5 separate regions of the Homo sapiens genome follow, and all the other regions are linked to region 5. Evidence: promoter capture Hi-C in 16 types of primary human blood cells and fetal thymus (Javierre and others, 2016). All regions are on one chromosome and are shown on one strand. The core of a region is centred on a gene start or on the middle of the fragment in contact, and the rest is flanking DNA. Distances in the headings are between cores, read along the strand shown.

The links. The method cuts DNA at HindIII sites, captures the fragments that hold promoters and counts their contacts. A CHiCAGO score of 5 or more calls a contact.
Region 1: a fragment that was not itself captured here is called in contact with the fragment with the promoter of RTF2 in region 5 in 1 of 17 cell types (M0 macrophages); the score reaches 5.1 in M0 macrophages.
Region 2: the fragment with the promoter of RAB22A here is called in contact with the fragment with the promoter of RTF2 in region 5 in 1 of 17 cell types (total B cells); the score reaches 5.5 in total B cells.
Region 3: the fragment with the promoter of VAPB here is called in contact with the fragment with the promoter of RTF2 in region 5 in 1 of 17 cell types (neutrophils); the score reaches 6.1 in neutrophils.
Region 4: a contact is called between a fragment that was not itself captured here and the fragment with the promoter of RTF2 in region 5, in 1 of 17 cell types (monocytes). The highest score is 8.2, in monocytes.

The regions. Positions count from the first base shown.
Region 1 is chr20:57,475,514-57,478,474 of GRCh38, forward strand. No RefSeq gene overlaps it. Among named protein-coding and RNA genes, the nearest start is that of CTCFL, 48 kb to the right of the region's middle. RefSeq lists an enhancer at 789-1,289. The HindIII fragment of the contact is 7,583 bases long and covers 1-2,961 here.
Region 2 is chr20:58,308,290-58,311,000 of GRCh38, forward strand. RAB22A (RAB22A, member RAS oncogene family) reads left to right here and starts at 1,426. Exons shown (of 7, transcript NM_020673.3): 1 at 1,426-1,723. The coding sequence starts at 1,688. It also overlaps the pseudogene PPP4R1L. RefSeq lists silencers at 895-1,454, 1,495-1,824. The HindIII fragment of the contact is 7,008 bases long and covers 1-2,258 here.
Region 3 is chr20:58,387,916-58,390,615 of GRCh38, forward strand. VAPB (VAMP associated protein B and C) reads left to right here and starts at 1,314. Exons shown (of 6, transcript NM_004738.5): 1 at 1,314-1,602. The coding sequence starts at 1,545. RefSeq lists silencers at 1,023-1,462, 1,723-1,842. The HindIII fragment of the contact is 12,509 bases long and covers 1-2,700 here.
Region 4 is chr20:57,709,639-57,712,362 of GRCh38, forward strand. It overlaps PMEPA1 (prostate transmembrane protein, androgen induced 1), which reads right to left and starts at 377. Exons shown (of 4, transcript NM_020182.5): 1 at 1-377. NKILA (NF-kappaB interacting lncRNA) reads left to right here and starts at 545. Exons shown (of 1, transcript NR_131157.1): 1 at 545-2,724. RefSeq lists silencers at 209-638, 659-778 and an enhancer at 2,431-2,724. The HindIII fragment of the contact is 308 bases long and covers 1,280-1,587 here.
Region 5 is chr20:56,467,356-56,470,097 of GRCh38, forward strand. RTF2 (replication termination factor 2) reads left to right here and starts at 1,272. Exons shown (of 9, transcript NM_016407.5): 1 at 1,272-1,411. The coding sequence starts at 1,343. The HindIII fragment of the contact is 9,363 bases long and covers 283-2,742 here.

The DNA.
Region 1 (2,961 bases), core at 323-2,822, 1.0 Mb after region 5:
CAGGAGGAGGTTCCACAAAGTCTTTAGGGTGACTCATGACTCTGCCATCCTCAGGGTCCAAAATTATTGCGTGAGCTCCAGCCATCACATCTTCTTTCCAGCCAGGAAAAAGGAAGGAACAGAGAAGGATGTCCCCTGTTCCTTTAAAGAACACTTGAGAAAACTTCTGCTCACCTCCCTGTTTCACGTGGCCATACCTCACTGCAAGGAAAATGTAGTCTTTATTCTGGGTGGCCATGCAACCCCCTGAAAACTGGGGGTCTTACAACTAGGGCAAGAGAGGGCAAGAGTGGATACTGCTGTAGTCTACTCAATCAGATCTGTTCCGGCCACGGGGAGGAGCTGAATGGAACAGCATCATTCCATTTAAGGCAATTGGCTATGCGTTCTTGGACAAGTCACCTGATCCTTCTGGGCCTCTTTTTGCTCATCTGACTAACTAAAATCAGATTAAAAGGTTTTTAGAGTCTCCTTCAGTAGAATCCTTCTATGGGTCTAAGAATTGTCTCATTTTTAGCCATAGACCATATCAAGATGTAGAGACACTGGTGGGTACTGCCTGAGTGTGGTATCTTCTGTGTCAGACTGACCAGGCTTCAGGTCCTGTGGGGCCTGGGAAACGTCCTTCCTCCTCTGAGCCGGGTCCCTCCTGCTGGCCAGACTCGGATGAAGTGACTGTAAAGTTCCCAGCTTGCCACTCAGCAACTCTAGCAACACCAGCAAATTACTAACATTCTATTAATAAAAACGACAGAGGAAATGCACCTGTTTCCTATTGCTGCTGTAACAAATGCCCACAAAGGTAGTGACTCAAACACCACACATTTATTCCCCTCCAGTTCTGGAGGCCAGAAGCATGAAATAGACTCACAGGGCTGAGGGCAAGGTGTCTGCCGGGCTGTGTTCCTCTGTTTCCTACCCACTTGGGCGCTGGCAGAATTCAGGTCCCAGGGCTGGAGGAATGACCTCTTTGGAGGCTCAGTAAAGAGCTCCTGGGATTATATTAGGCAACAGGTTGGATTCAGTTTTAGGAACAGAATTGCCATTTGGAAATTATGCTCCAAATTCTGCTAGATCTGAATTTTTTGAAGTAGCCAGTGCAGACACAGAAGGGCAGCTGTGAGCTGGGGTCCCAAGGAAACTTCAGAAAGCCGTGTCCATAGCATCTTCCTTCCGTGGATCCCGAGGAGACCTCTGGGCCCGTCCGGGCTTCCCCCCGCCCAGCTTCAGCCGTTGTGGTTTCAGGCCCGCGGGGGGTCCCTGCCTCCCTAGATTGTCTCTGTCCCGCTCCCAAGGCCATTCACTCTTTCTGGCACTCACATCCCCAGACACGCCCCCTCCCACCCAAGGCCCAAGCAAGTGCCTCACAGCCCTGATCCCAGCCGCAACAGAGGACAGAGTGGAATCTGGGAGTTAAACACCAAATGGCCAAGGGTGGTTTTCCACTGAGACCTAGAGCCGAGGGGGCCATCAGCACCCGTTCTCTGAAGGCGGCTGGGGCAGATCCAGGGCAGTCGAGCAGGTGGACTCTGGCATCACCCTGCCCAGGCTCAAATCCCAGCTCCATCTTTGAGCTGTGTGACCTGGGATATGTTTCTTAACTTCTCTGTGCCTTGCTTTTGACATTTGTAAAAGGTGGATCATGATGGCATTTTCCTCCCAGGACAGGTATGAAGATTACAGATGAAATCAATCCAACATAATTGGTATAAACCACTTGGCTTAAGGGGTGCCTGGGACATCCACAGGGGCTCTGGTAACTGCGATTCCTGTTATGACCATGACAGGTGACAGCAGAAGGCCCCACCCAGCTCCCACCTCAGTTGTATAGACTGTGGGCTCTGCTTGGCCATGTGTGTTGTGGGGAAGGAGACCCTGTTTTCTCCTGCCTTTGCAGTCCCATTCTCTTTCCTAAGGATTCTCTTTTCCTTCTTTTTTTTTTTTCTTGAGTCAGTCTCGCTCTGTCACTCAGGCTGGAGTGCAGTGGCACGATCTTGGCTCACTGCAACCTCCACCTCCTGAGTTCAAGCTATTCTCCCTGCCTCAGCCTCCTGAGTAGCTGAGATTACAGGCACGTGCCACCACACCCGGCTAATTTTTGTATTTTTAGTAGAGACGGGGTTTCACCATGTTGGCCAGGATGGTCTTGAACTCCTGACCTCAAGTGCTCCGCCCTCCTCAGCCTCCCTTCTCTTTTCCTTTTACAGCCCTTCTGAGATGTCTCTTCTTCGGCGTTTCATTCACTCCCCGCGGCACCCTGGATGCCTGTTCACAGCTCGGTCCAGATTTCTAGAGCTGCTTTTAAAGGGCAGCTGCCACCCAGTGTTGCTCCCTGTATTCCCAGGTCCCCTTGCAGCCGCAGTGAGCTTGTCCCCATTCTGTAGACGGCAATAATCATAATAGTATTAGTAACAATGATGATAGGAAACATTTGCTTACCACTAATTAAATACGAGGGTCTGTACTAAGCCGGTGTCCCTGTATTATCTCACTTCAAGATCTCCGGGGTCACAGAGGCAGCCTGTTTCCAGAGACAGTAACTGAGGCACGGAGAGAGGATGAGGAAATGAAGCTGGGAGACGGTGACTAGCTTGGTGTTCCTTACAAATGGGAGGTGGTGGCTGGAATAGGCCAGGCTGGCCTGACTCAGAGTCCAGCTCTAACTTCTGTCACCAGATTTAAATGGGATTCTGGAGTTTTAATTTTCCCCAAGCAGACGCTTCCTCCTTAACGTCACGATTTCCACACGTGCTGGACACATTTGGAGGTGGACAGAGATGAGGCAAAATTAAACTTTTTCGAGTTGAGTCTGGTTACTCTGGGTAGAGGATCTTGCAAAACCACCTTGCTTTGCTGGGAGAGACTTTGGTCGTGAAAGATAAATGTTCTGCCGTCTGAATCAGAGGTAGGACGCCCCATGCTGCGAATTGTGGCTGCTTAGAAATATTACTGTTTATTGAG
Region 2 (2,711 bases), core at 176-2,675, 1.8 Mb after region 5:
TAGGAAACCTGAAGATGTGGAATGAAAGATGAGAGGAAGTACTGTATATGACTGGCGTACAGTACGCCCCCAATTAATGTTAGCTATTTGGATGATTTATATAGGGCTTCTTCACCAGCAAGCACTCCGGTGCTCGGTAATTTTCTGTTTACAAGTAGGCTCTCCCCACACCCTGTGAGCTCCCTGCGTGTAGAGCTGTTTTCAACACATCCTTGCAGGTTCGGAGCCCAACACGTGGCCCCCAGAGCAAATAGCTGCTCAGTAAGTTTCTTGACAGGAGAGAAAACGCTTCCTTCCTTCACCAGAAATGCGAACTTGGATTTCTAAGATGACACCTCCCCCAGCTACCAGCCCTTAACATGATTCCAAAAAAGAGGGCAAGAAGGGACAAGGGTCCCACCCAAGAAATGCGGGGGCCAATGGGCTCCATGGGATAAGAGATGGAGCCGGGCTTGTGGCCAGGACACTTGAGAAGTCCGTGCAACTCCGTGACCGGCCACACCGAGAGGGGGACCTCCCAAACCCCCCAGCAGTCCTAAAAAGTCCCTAGGAAAAGGGCAAGGCCCTGAGAGGGAAGTCACCCACCTCCCAGGTGGCGGACCCCCCGCCCGCCCAGGGTCGACTAGGACTTGGGACTACCCCCTCCGCCCATCCCACGGCAGCTGCAGGCGCAGGAAGAAAAGAAGTGACAGGGAGTCCAAAGTTTCCCCAACAACAAAAATCCTTCCCCCGAGGGAAGGGAAGGGCTCCCACCCTCAGCCCGCCCCGCCCAGGGAGGAGGGACCGCCACCAGTGGATCTAGGCAGTTGGGGGTCCCGCTGTTCTGGTCCCGACAAGGAGTGCCTGGCTTGAGGTTCCCCCGCCCCGCGCTTCGTGCACTCTGAATTCTTTGAGAGGGTCCCAGGGAGGGACAGGGGTGCCCCAACTCTTACTTACAGTCGTCTAAGTCATCCTGCAAGTCCACAAAGTACAGGGGGATCTCTGAAAACCAAGAAACACACAAGAAGTTACCAGGGGGCTGCGGCGAGAGGGGACGGGGTCGGGCAGGGGCCCCTCGGCCTCGCGGGGTGGTCACGGGGCGAGAGAGAGAGGGGCACCCCTGGCATCCCCCGAGCCCAGCCCCACTCACCCGCCATCTTGGGATGGGCATGGAGGCGGGACCGGCAGGGGCGGGGCCCTGCAGACAGGGGCGGGGCCCTGCAGACAGGGGCGGGGCCCTGCAGACAGGGGCGGGGCCCTGCAGACAGGGGCGGGGCCCTGCAGACAGGGGCGGGGCCCTGCAGACAGGGGCGGGGCCCTGCAGACAGGGGCGGGGCCCTGCAGACAGGGGCGGGGCCGTCGGCTTCGGGCCCCGCCCCCGATCCGCGCCGGCCGGCCGGCCCCGCCCTCTCAGCGAAGGTGGCTGCCGAGGTGGGCGGGGAGGTCAGGTGACGCGGCCGGCGTCCCAAGATGGCGGCGGCGGCGGCTCCCGGAAGGCCGCGGCGGCGTCCCGGCTGCTAAGGCGGGCCCCACGCGGCTGGCAGCGGACAGGCCGGACCTACGGCCGGAGGACGGGCGGCAGCCGCCTCTGCGCGGACCGGGGCTGGGCCGTGCGGCGGCAGCGGCGCCAGGGGATGCTCTTGCTGGGCCTGGCCTCTCCCTTCTCAACTTAGGGCGGCGGCGGGCCCGCGCCCCTGGCTCCCGGGCCATGGCGCTGAGGGAGCTCAAAGTGTGTCTGCTCGGGGTGAGTGGCGGCGGGTCCGGCCGGGAGGGCCACGGGAGGCTGGGCTGGCGGGGACCCCGGATCCCCCCTGTCCCCTCATCCCTTCCCCCCTCCCACGTCCAAGACGCTGTCTGCCAGCCCCGTGGACCCTCCCTCCAGCTCGGGAGCCGTCCCGCCCACCTCTTGCACTCTCGAAAAGGTCCTGGAGGCCGAAGGGACCCTTCCCCTTCCCCTCCCTGGAGCCCGTGGACTCTTCCCGCCCCACAAAGAGCAAACAGCCCCCCCTTGCCTCTCTATTGCATCTGGGTTAAGAGAGGTTCTTAAATAGTTTTCTCCCAACTTACCAAGGTATTAGTTGGGAGTTGGCCAAGTCTTCCAAAGTAAAACCAATAACAGGTCTTTAGGTTTTACAAGCAGCATTAGCCTACTTTGTCTCTTGGGTGTTTTTGAACTTGTGGGATACCCCTGCCACTTGTCCAAAGAGTTACTTTGCCAAGTAACTCTTCCTGTGGAGAAAAGGGGTGTTCAAATCAGGAAGCCCCAAAGACTAGTTTGAAGCTTCAGCTTCCTGTCTTGTCAGGAAAGACAAGGTGTTGGCCATTTCAAAGCCTTCTTTCTGAAATTGATGCTGTCATTCCAGAGTTTCTGCCTTAAAGATCGGCAGGAACTCCAATAACTAATCTTTATTCCCCCAAATAGGGTGGGGCTAGGATTCATCAGGGATTACTCAGAGGTAACTCAGGAGTTCAAAGTTTACTAACATATGTTAAAAAGCAAGTGGACTTGTTACTTTTTACACGAAGCAGAAACTTTGGGTCTCTCAAAAGGTCCTAATCTGTCTTAACGGCAAAAACCTCTCCCTTTTAGTACAGTTGGAATTTCCTAATTACTCTACTGAATTTTTATGACAACCGCTTTTGTGTTCCTCCGTTTATAAAATTTACACGTCTAGGGTGATTTTTCTAAAATCCTGAACTTATGCCACAAAGTAGTTTTTGGTGTCTGCCAA
Region 3 (2,700 bases), core at 64-2,563, 1.9 Mb after region 5:
AAGGAAACAGGGTAAAGACATTTTTACAAATATTTAAAGATATTGGACTTTCACAAGGTAAGTATGCATGCCCAAAAGTTTGAAGTAACCACTAAAACTTAGAAATAGAGTATACAGGTGAAGAAAATCAGAATGAGAATAAAAATAAACCCTAAAGAAGAAAGGAAAGGGGAAAAAAACCAGGCAGGACAAATAGAAATAACAAAATACAATGGTAGAAATAATTCCAGATATATCAGTAAATATAATAAATGTAAATGGACTAAATGCTCCAGTTAAAATACAAAGACTATTCTTTTAAAAAACCTTTTTATCATGAAAAATTTCAAGTATACAGCAAAGTGGGAGAAACAGTACAAGAAAACCATATACCTGCGATGTAGAGTCAGCCATTGCTAGCAATTTGCCACATTTGTCTCACCTATATGGGTATGTATAGGAGACTATTAAGAACACCTATTTAACTTCCATAGTAAACATAATATAATGAAATACAATTTAAACGGTAATCATGATGTAGAGTATCCACTTTTGAGGTCAAGCAGATCTGGATTCTCCAGCAATTTTTAATTATTTAACTTACGTGTGTGGTTATTTATTCAAAAGATGTCTCTTCACTAGGCTATAGTAAAAGGATTGGAATCAGGTTCGCTTTTCTGATCATTGTATTTCTAAATATTTGTTGCATAAACAAATAGAATTTACTAGTAAAGAATTCAGCACAGTGCCAGTTGCATAGTAAACATTTAACGTAGAGTAGCTTGTATTTATTGTAGTTGCTGTTGTTATTGGAAGCATTCAGTAGAGTGATACAAAATAAATAAGCAATAATTGGTAGTTTATTATATTTATAATTATTATTTACAAGACGTCACAGTGCCTAGCCCATATCACTCACCCATAAACATTATACTTATACTAAGTACTTTCACTATTATTCAAAGTCTCTAACAGTGCCTGGCACTACATAAGCAAGAGAAAAGTGGAAGTTTATTCTAATTGTTATTATTGAATAAAGCACTTAACACGAAGCTGGCCCCCAGCGGGCCCTTAATAGTTTCCGCGGTGGCTGTCGTAGCTGGACTACAGACCCCGCCTCCTGAGCGGCCCGAAGCCCCGCCCCTTACTGCCCCGCAGTCCCGCCCCCGTGGCTTGTGCCGCGCCTGCGCACTGTCCCGGAAGGGGCTCTACGCGCGCAGCTTTAGTCCCCGCCCCTGGAGCCGGCGGCGCAGGGCGCAGCTTCCCGCCGCCAGAGCGGGCCAGCCTGCTGCGTGCGTGCGTGTGTACGACTCTGCGTGCGTGCGTGCGTGCGTGCGTGCCGTCAGCTCGCCGGGCACCGCGGCCTCGCCCTCGCCCTCCGCCCCTGCGCCTGCACCGCGTAGACCGACCCCCCCCCAGCGCGCCCACCCGGTAGAGGACCCCCGCCCGTGCCCCGACCGGTCCCCGCCTTTTTGTAAAACTTAAAGCGGGCGCAGCATTAACGCTTCCCGCCCCGGTGACCTCTCAGGGGTCTCCCCGCCAAAGGTGCTCCGCCGCTAAGGAACATGGCGAAGGTGGAGCAGGTCCTGAGCCTCGAGCCGCAGCACGAGCTCAAATTCCGAGGTAAGCCCCAGAGGCCGCCACCTTCCTGCCCGCGGCCTCCGCCCCAGTGCTGGAAGGACGGAGCCCGGCGCGGCGGGTGACGTCGGCCCTCGTCCCCACCCCGACGGCGCTGTCGCGGGGGGCGGCGAGGCCGGGCCGGGCCTTGGCGCTCGCCGCGCTCCCCAGAACTGCCCGGAGTGGCCGGGACCCGAGAGGGCTGGTGCGGGAGCCGGGGCCTGCGCCTCCTCCCCGACCCCCAGCCTCCTGGGACTTGCCTTCGAGGCACTTGTCACTTTGTAACTTACCAGTTTGTGATCCTCTCTAGTGTGAGCCTCCGCCGCTGCCTTTGCCTAGAAGTTTCTTCCCCTGCTCCGTGACAGTGTTGACCTCAGGGCTTAGTTGAGGTGTCAGCTGCTCAGAGAGGCCTGCTGTGACCACCCAGCCACCGTGCACACCTGCTGTCATTCCCTATTCCGTCACTGTTTCGTGGTCAGCACGGCACTTTTCATACCCAAAATCACTGTTTCAATACTAGAAGGGAAACTGCATGAGGACAGGCTCTTGTCAGTTCGCTGCTGTGTACCCAGCACACATTATACGCCTAGTAAATAAATACCTGTTGAACCAACAGATGAACATGTTGAACCAACAAATGAACCTCCTCAGGACTTCTGATGGGATTGGGCCCATTTTCCTTTCACTGCGTCCCTCATGCTGTCTCCTGGTTGCGGTGCAAGGAGGCTGCCACGGTGCTGGGATCCTTTTTCTCCGCAGAGCTGTCTGGAGCAACACCTGCGGCGATGGGAAGCCATGACCCTGGTTTCTCCCAGATACTATTACCTCTGTAATTTGTGCCTTTATGTTTTCTATGTTGTTACTTTTGTTTTTTTTTTTTTTTTCCTACCTTCACCAGGGCCACGAGGTAAAAGTTCTTGTCTGACATGCTCATTCTTTCTTTTTGCGTGTATCCAGTGATGTGGGAGGCTCTGGGGAGGTGATGGATGCACAAGACAGATAAGGCCTCTGCTCTCACAGAGCTTACCTTCCGACGAGGACAGACAAACCAACACACAAGATCATTGCAGATAGTGCTAAGTGCTGTGTAGGAAATGGAACAGT
Region 4 (2,724 bases), core at 184-2,683, 1.2 Mb after region 5:
CTCCGGCCGGCGCCCGGAGCTGGGGCCCCGCATGCAGGAGGCGCGCGGCGGGGGAGGCGCGCCCCGGCTCGCCGGGCTCGGGTCGCCGCCAAGTTCCCGGGGCGCCGCGGGGCTCAGTGCGCGGGACCGCGCTCCGCTGCGCCCCCCCGGCCTCCCCTCGGCAGCCCCGGGGGCGTCGGCAGTGCCCGCGGGTGGCGTCCGGAAAATGGGCTGGCAGCGGGGCGCGCGCTGCCGCCGGGGCTGAGCCTCTGCCGCTAGCTTTCCCCAGCCGAGCGCCTCCGCCGCCGCCGCCGCCGCCGCCTCCTCCTCCTCATTCAAGTCCAAGGAGATCGGGTTTCGCTCCGAGACCGCGGTCGGAGGCAGGCAGACGGTCTGACGTCAGCGCTAGACGGGGCTGCCGGTTCCCACCGCGCGGGGGCCGGGGAGGGGGCGCGCGCTGCGCCAATCCCCGCCGAGGTTCCCCCGCACCCCCTCCCCGAGCCGGGGGGCGGGGTGACGGGAAACGGGGCGGGCTCTTAAAGGGCCAGAGCTAGGCGGCCCACGTAGACCCGGCACCCGCGCAACGGAGGAGGGGCGCTGTGCCCTCTCCCCAACGGCGGTCAGCTTGGAACGCCTGCCCGGCGCACGCCCGGGGCCGGGGAGCCGAACTCGGTGCCAGCCGCACCCGGGCGGGTTGCTGGTGCGCCCTCCCCTCGCCCCCGTCCCTGGGGTCCTTGACCCAGGCTCTTGGGGCTAGCCTATCTTCTGAGGAGCACAAGGTCCCTGGGGGCTCAGGGAAGAGAAATTGGAGAAAGGGGGAGGAAGCCCCCAAGATGGATCACCCATTGCCTGGTTTCGCAGGAGACTGTCCGCCTTCAGTTCTCCAGCAGCTCGGGGATCATGGCCCACTGAACCCCCAAGCGCTTTCACCCGAACCCAAGGAGGACGACCAGGAAAGACGGGAACTCGCGTAGACACGCCCGGAAGCCCTTGTCATGTAAATAGCTGTCGGGGACTGGTGTATTGTCGCCGCCCCAGCCGGCGGGACCTGGGGCGAATCCACACCCATTGTCTGCTGCCCAAGGGGCCTCCGGCTGGGGGGCGCGGCTGCGGAGTTCAAAAGGGGTATGAGCAGGAGGGGTGTACTTTTAGTTCATTAAGTTTTAATTACAGGAGTGCTACAAGAACACATTCTTCAGGTTTAAAAAGATATTAAAATATTACATAAGAGACCTCCCCTCCCTGGCCCACCTCCAGCCTCTTAAAAATTTAGTGTGTCGCCTTTTAGACACTTTCTCAAAGCTTCACTTATTTAACAGGCACTTAAGGAGCACCTACCTGTGCCAGAAACTCTCCAAATATTAACTCAACCTGACACCGACTCAGTGTGGCCGAATATTACTCTCCCCATTTTACAGAGCGGGCAGCTGGTCAAGGAAGTCGCTTGTTGAAAGTCACACAGTGGTGGAGCCTGTGTGCCAACCCAGGACCCTGGGGAGCTGCCTCCCCCTCTCCCACGTAGTCCTGATTCTTTAAGTGTCCACATATTCCTGTAATGCCTGGAGTTTCAGTAATTAGCAGGGACTTAGTGTGTTCAGAGAAAAAAAAAGCTTTTAAAAATTATTGTTACTGTGTTTGTAACAGTTTGGATAGAGAAGGAAAAGCTGGAATTTGGGAAGTGAAGGTGGCCTCGGGGTAGAACTTACCTAGACCAGAGCGAATTCATCCTGAAGAACTCAGAGAAAGCCGGTGCAGGAAGTGGGTTCCCGCTCTCCCTGCACAGGCACAGTGATGCTGCCAGAGCTCTCCCAGAAAGACCAGGAGGCTTGTTCTGGAGAAGTCAAGCCCAGGGATGTGGCTCAGGCTGGTCCAAGCTCTTTGGAGGAGTCCAAGCGTGCCCAGCCCAGAGGGAGGTTCAGAGGCACTGACCGTCTTCTGTTTGGGAGGAGAAGCTCACTCTTGGAGCCACAGCCAGCACTAGGTCAGGACCCAGGCCCCGGCCCAGGAGTGGGGCAATACCCAGCGTCTACCCCAGATGGCACCCTGCTGTGAACTGGGCGCCCTCAGCCCCTGCCTTGAGGAAGGGGCAATACCACCAGCGTGTCTTTTATCAGGGAAGATATTGCTGCAGTTTGGCCGCTGCAACTTAAGAGAAAAGCTAAGGGGTCCCCCAGCATCCCTTGGGGTGCCACTGCAAATACTGGCTGGGCCTGGAGATGACCTGGGTCCCATTCACTTCCTAGGGTGAAGGAGGTCATCATTACCACCCCTGCTTTCAGCCATTTCTTCATTCATTCAATCAACAAACTGGCTGAGCTGCAACCCTGAGCCGGGGAATTCAGCCACTCCAGACACAGCCCCTGCCCTCCGGGAAGTCTCGGGAGACCTGGCTAGTCTGGCTGGGAGAAGTCACACGTTGATTGTCTTGGAAGTGAGATGGCATTTACACAATGGAGGCTGCACTGCCAGCAGGCAAAAATAACCAGTTAATTCAGTGGCTTAAAGAAACCAAACCTACCCACAACGCTTGACCTCCCATTGATCCATCTGCGACACCGGCAGTGGCTACCATTTATTGAGTGCTGATGGTGTCACCTGGGATTGACTTAGTGGTCTCTGGCGCTAGTTCCGAAGTTGATTCTGTCTGGAGAGCTTAATGCAGTGTTCAGACCTCAGGGTCCGAACCTGAGGGTCACCCAAAGATGAGTGGGACATAGCTGTGTGACCTCGGCTGAGTGCTTTCAC
Region 5 (2,742 bases), core at 22-2,521:
TTCCCAAGTAAAAAATATTTTCAGCGTTTTTATGTTTCACGTAGGTCAATAGGGTAATATCCAATCATAAAGATCTGCCTTCTTGGCAATGGAGAAATTTTCCCATCATATATATGTACAAATACATACATACATACATACATACATATTAATGACAGAGTCTTGCTCTGTTGCCTAGGCTGGAGTGCAGTGGCATAATCATAAGCTCACTGCAACCTTGAATTCCTGGGCTCAGGCAATCCTTCCTACCCCCTCAGCCTCCGGAGCCGCTAGGACTACAAAAGCTTACCACAACGCCTGGCTAATTTTTCTTTTTCTTTCAAGATGGTGTCTCACCATGTTGTCCAGGCTGACCTGGAACTCCTGGGCTCAGGTGCTCCTCCCGTCTCGGCCTCCCAAAGTGCTGGGATTATAGGCACTTTCCCATAATATTTATAATAATTAAAGGAACAAACAGAGAGATAGACAATCGCCTAAGAGCAGACAGACAATCATGAATTTTTAGCAAGGGATTTGTGTTCTTATAGATAAAATACAGCCTGACTCTTGGAACGGGCATGGCAACATCAGTGTATATTTTATAAGAACTATTATATCGTCTATTAATGATACTTGATTGTTAATAAAATTTTTTTAGCCTGGGCTTCAGGAAACTGTGAATGAAATACACACACGCACAAACTGTATGCAAAATTTCACACACATGCCATCTACAATATGCATGGCAACACCAGAAAGTTCCAGGCCTTAAGGGAGGGTCTTACTTCCTAGAATCTGTTGTAACATCACTTCACAAGATTTGTTGTGAGTGCTTGAGTCACAGTTGGCGCTCAAGAAAGATGCGTTCTCCTTTTAAACACAAAAATGTCCATTGATACAGCAGATTCCGTTCATAGGCATCCTTAATCGCAGAAACAGGAGGGCGGCCCTTTTCCTCAAGGCGCTCTCAGTCCAGGGATGTGCCCGCTCCGCAGCCACACAAGCTGGCGTGGGATAGGGTCAAAGAGCGGTGGATGCGCACGGGCCGCCCACGCCCTCGCTGCCCTCCCGGAGCGTGGGCGAGTGATTCCGATTGTGCAGCAGAAACCCAGGGTCTCACGGGAACGAGGAAACCCGCCCACGCCCAGCCTCCAAGCGACGCTCTCCATGACAACCGGCACTTGGTAACGGCCTCGCCCTGCCCCGCTACGCCGCGCCTAGCGTGCCGCCCCGCCCCGCCCCGCTACGCCACGACCAGCGTGCTGCGTCACGGCGGTGCGCCGGAAGTGGCTGCGGATTTCGCCGGAAATCCCGGAAGTGACAGCTTTGGGGGTTTGCTGCTGGCTCTGACTCCCGTCCTGCGATGGGTTGCGACGGGGGAACAATCCCCAAGAGGCATGAACTGGTGAAGGGGCCGAAGAAGGTTGAGAAGGTCAGTGATGTGGGCCGGCTCTTGGCGACCGGGGGTGGTGGGAATTTGACGACCCCAGAAAACGAGAGGAAGTAAGAAGGGGGAGCCAGCGGAGTTCCAGACCTGGCTGCGGTCTTTTATTCCATTCAGAGGACTCAAAATTAACAACAGTATTAAGAGTGGACATTCAATGGGTGCTGACTATTGCCATTCACTGGACAGTAATCTTAACAGGGGGTATCTCATGTAATTATCACAATAGCCCTATAGCTACATACTGTTGTCCTCATTTTCAGACATGGAAGTTGAGGCTCAAAAGGAGAAATTTGCAAAGCTAGTAAATGGCAGAGCCAGGATTTGAACCCTACCTGCGACTAGTAGCAATAATACAAATACCTAGTGTATACTGAGTTTTGTATACACTAACTTCATTTGCTCAGAGAAGCCTTCCCAAACTGTTCCCTTACCACATCCTTTTATAAACTGTCTTAGCCTGCACACGGCTGTACGTGGTTGATTTGTATCAAGTCTTCCCCGCTAGACGGTAAGTTCCTGATAGCAGAGGCTGTACCCTTTTTTTCTCTGCAACTAGCATGGTTCCTGGCACACTAAATATTTCGAATAAACAAATGAGTGAATAATCCCTGATCTCACAAGTAATCGAGGAAATTATAATAATTTCTTTGCTACTGACGGGGACATTGAGTCCAGGGATATTAAGGTGACTAAGATCACACAGCTGGTAGGTAGTGAAGCCAGGATTCCCATCCACTTATTTGGGATTTCAAAGTTAGCACAAGTAATTACTTTTTAATGATAAAATATTTGTAAAGCACCTAGTAGAGACTTCTTTACAAAAATATTTGTAAAGCACACGTGGAGACTTCATGTATTCTGATTCAGGAGCTGGAGAGCTTGTTTAAAAGGTAAACCCCTTAAGTCACTATTGTATTTGAAGCATTCCAGTGGCTTCCCATCACATTAAGAATAAAATCTCGTCAGACCCTTGAGCAGACCTTGCCTATGTTTCTGACCTCATCTTCTGCCCCTCTCCACCTCTTTCATACTGTTCTAGCTAAACAGGCCTCTTGTTCTTCAACCTGGAGTGTGAGTTCATCAATCTGAAATACTCTTCACTGAGATTGTCACATGATGAGTTTCTTTACTTCATTCAGTTTTTTACTCAAATGTCATCTGTCCACTGTAACTGAAATGTGCCTCACTTCCAATATTCTCTCTTCTCTTCTTAACAGTGCCTACCACTGTGTTGTTTATTGTCTCTTTCCCACGTAGACAGGAACCTTGTGTGTCTTACCTCTGTAACCCCTACCATGTGTCAGCCACATAATAGA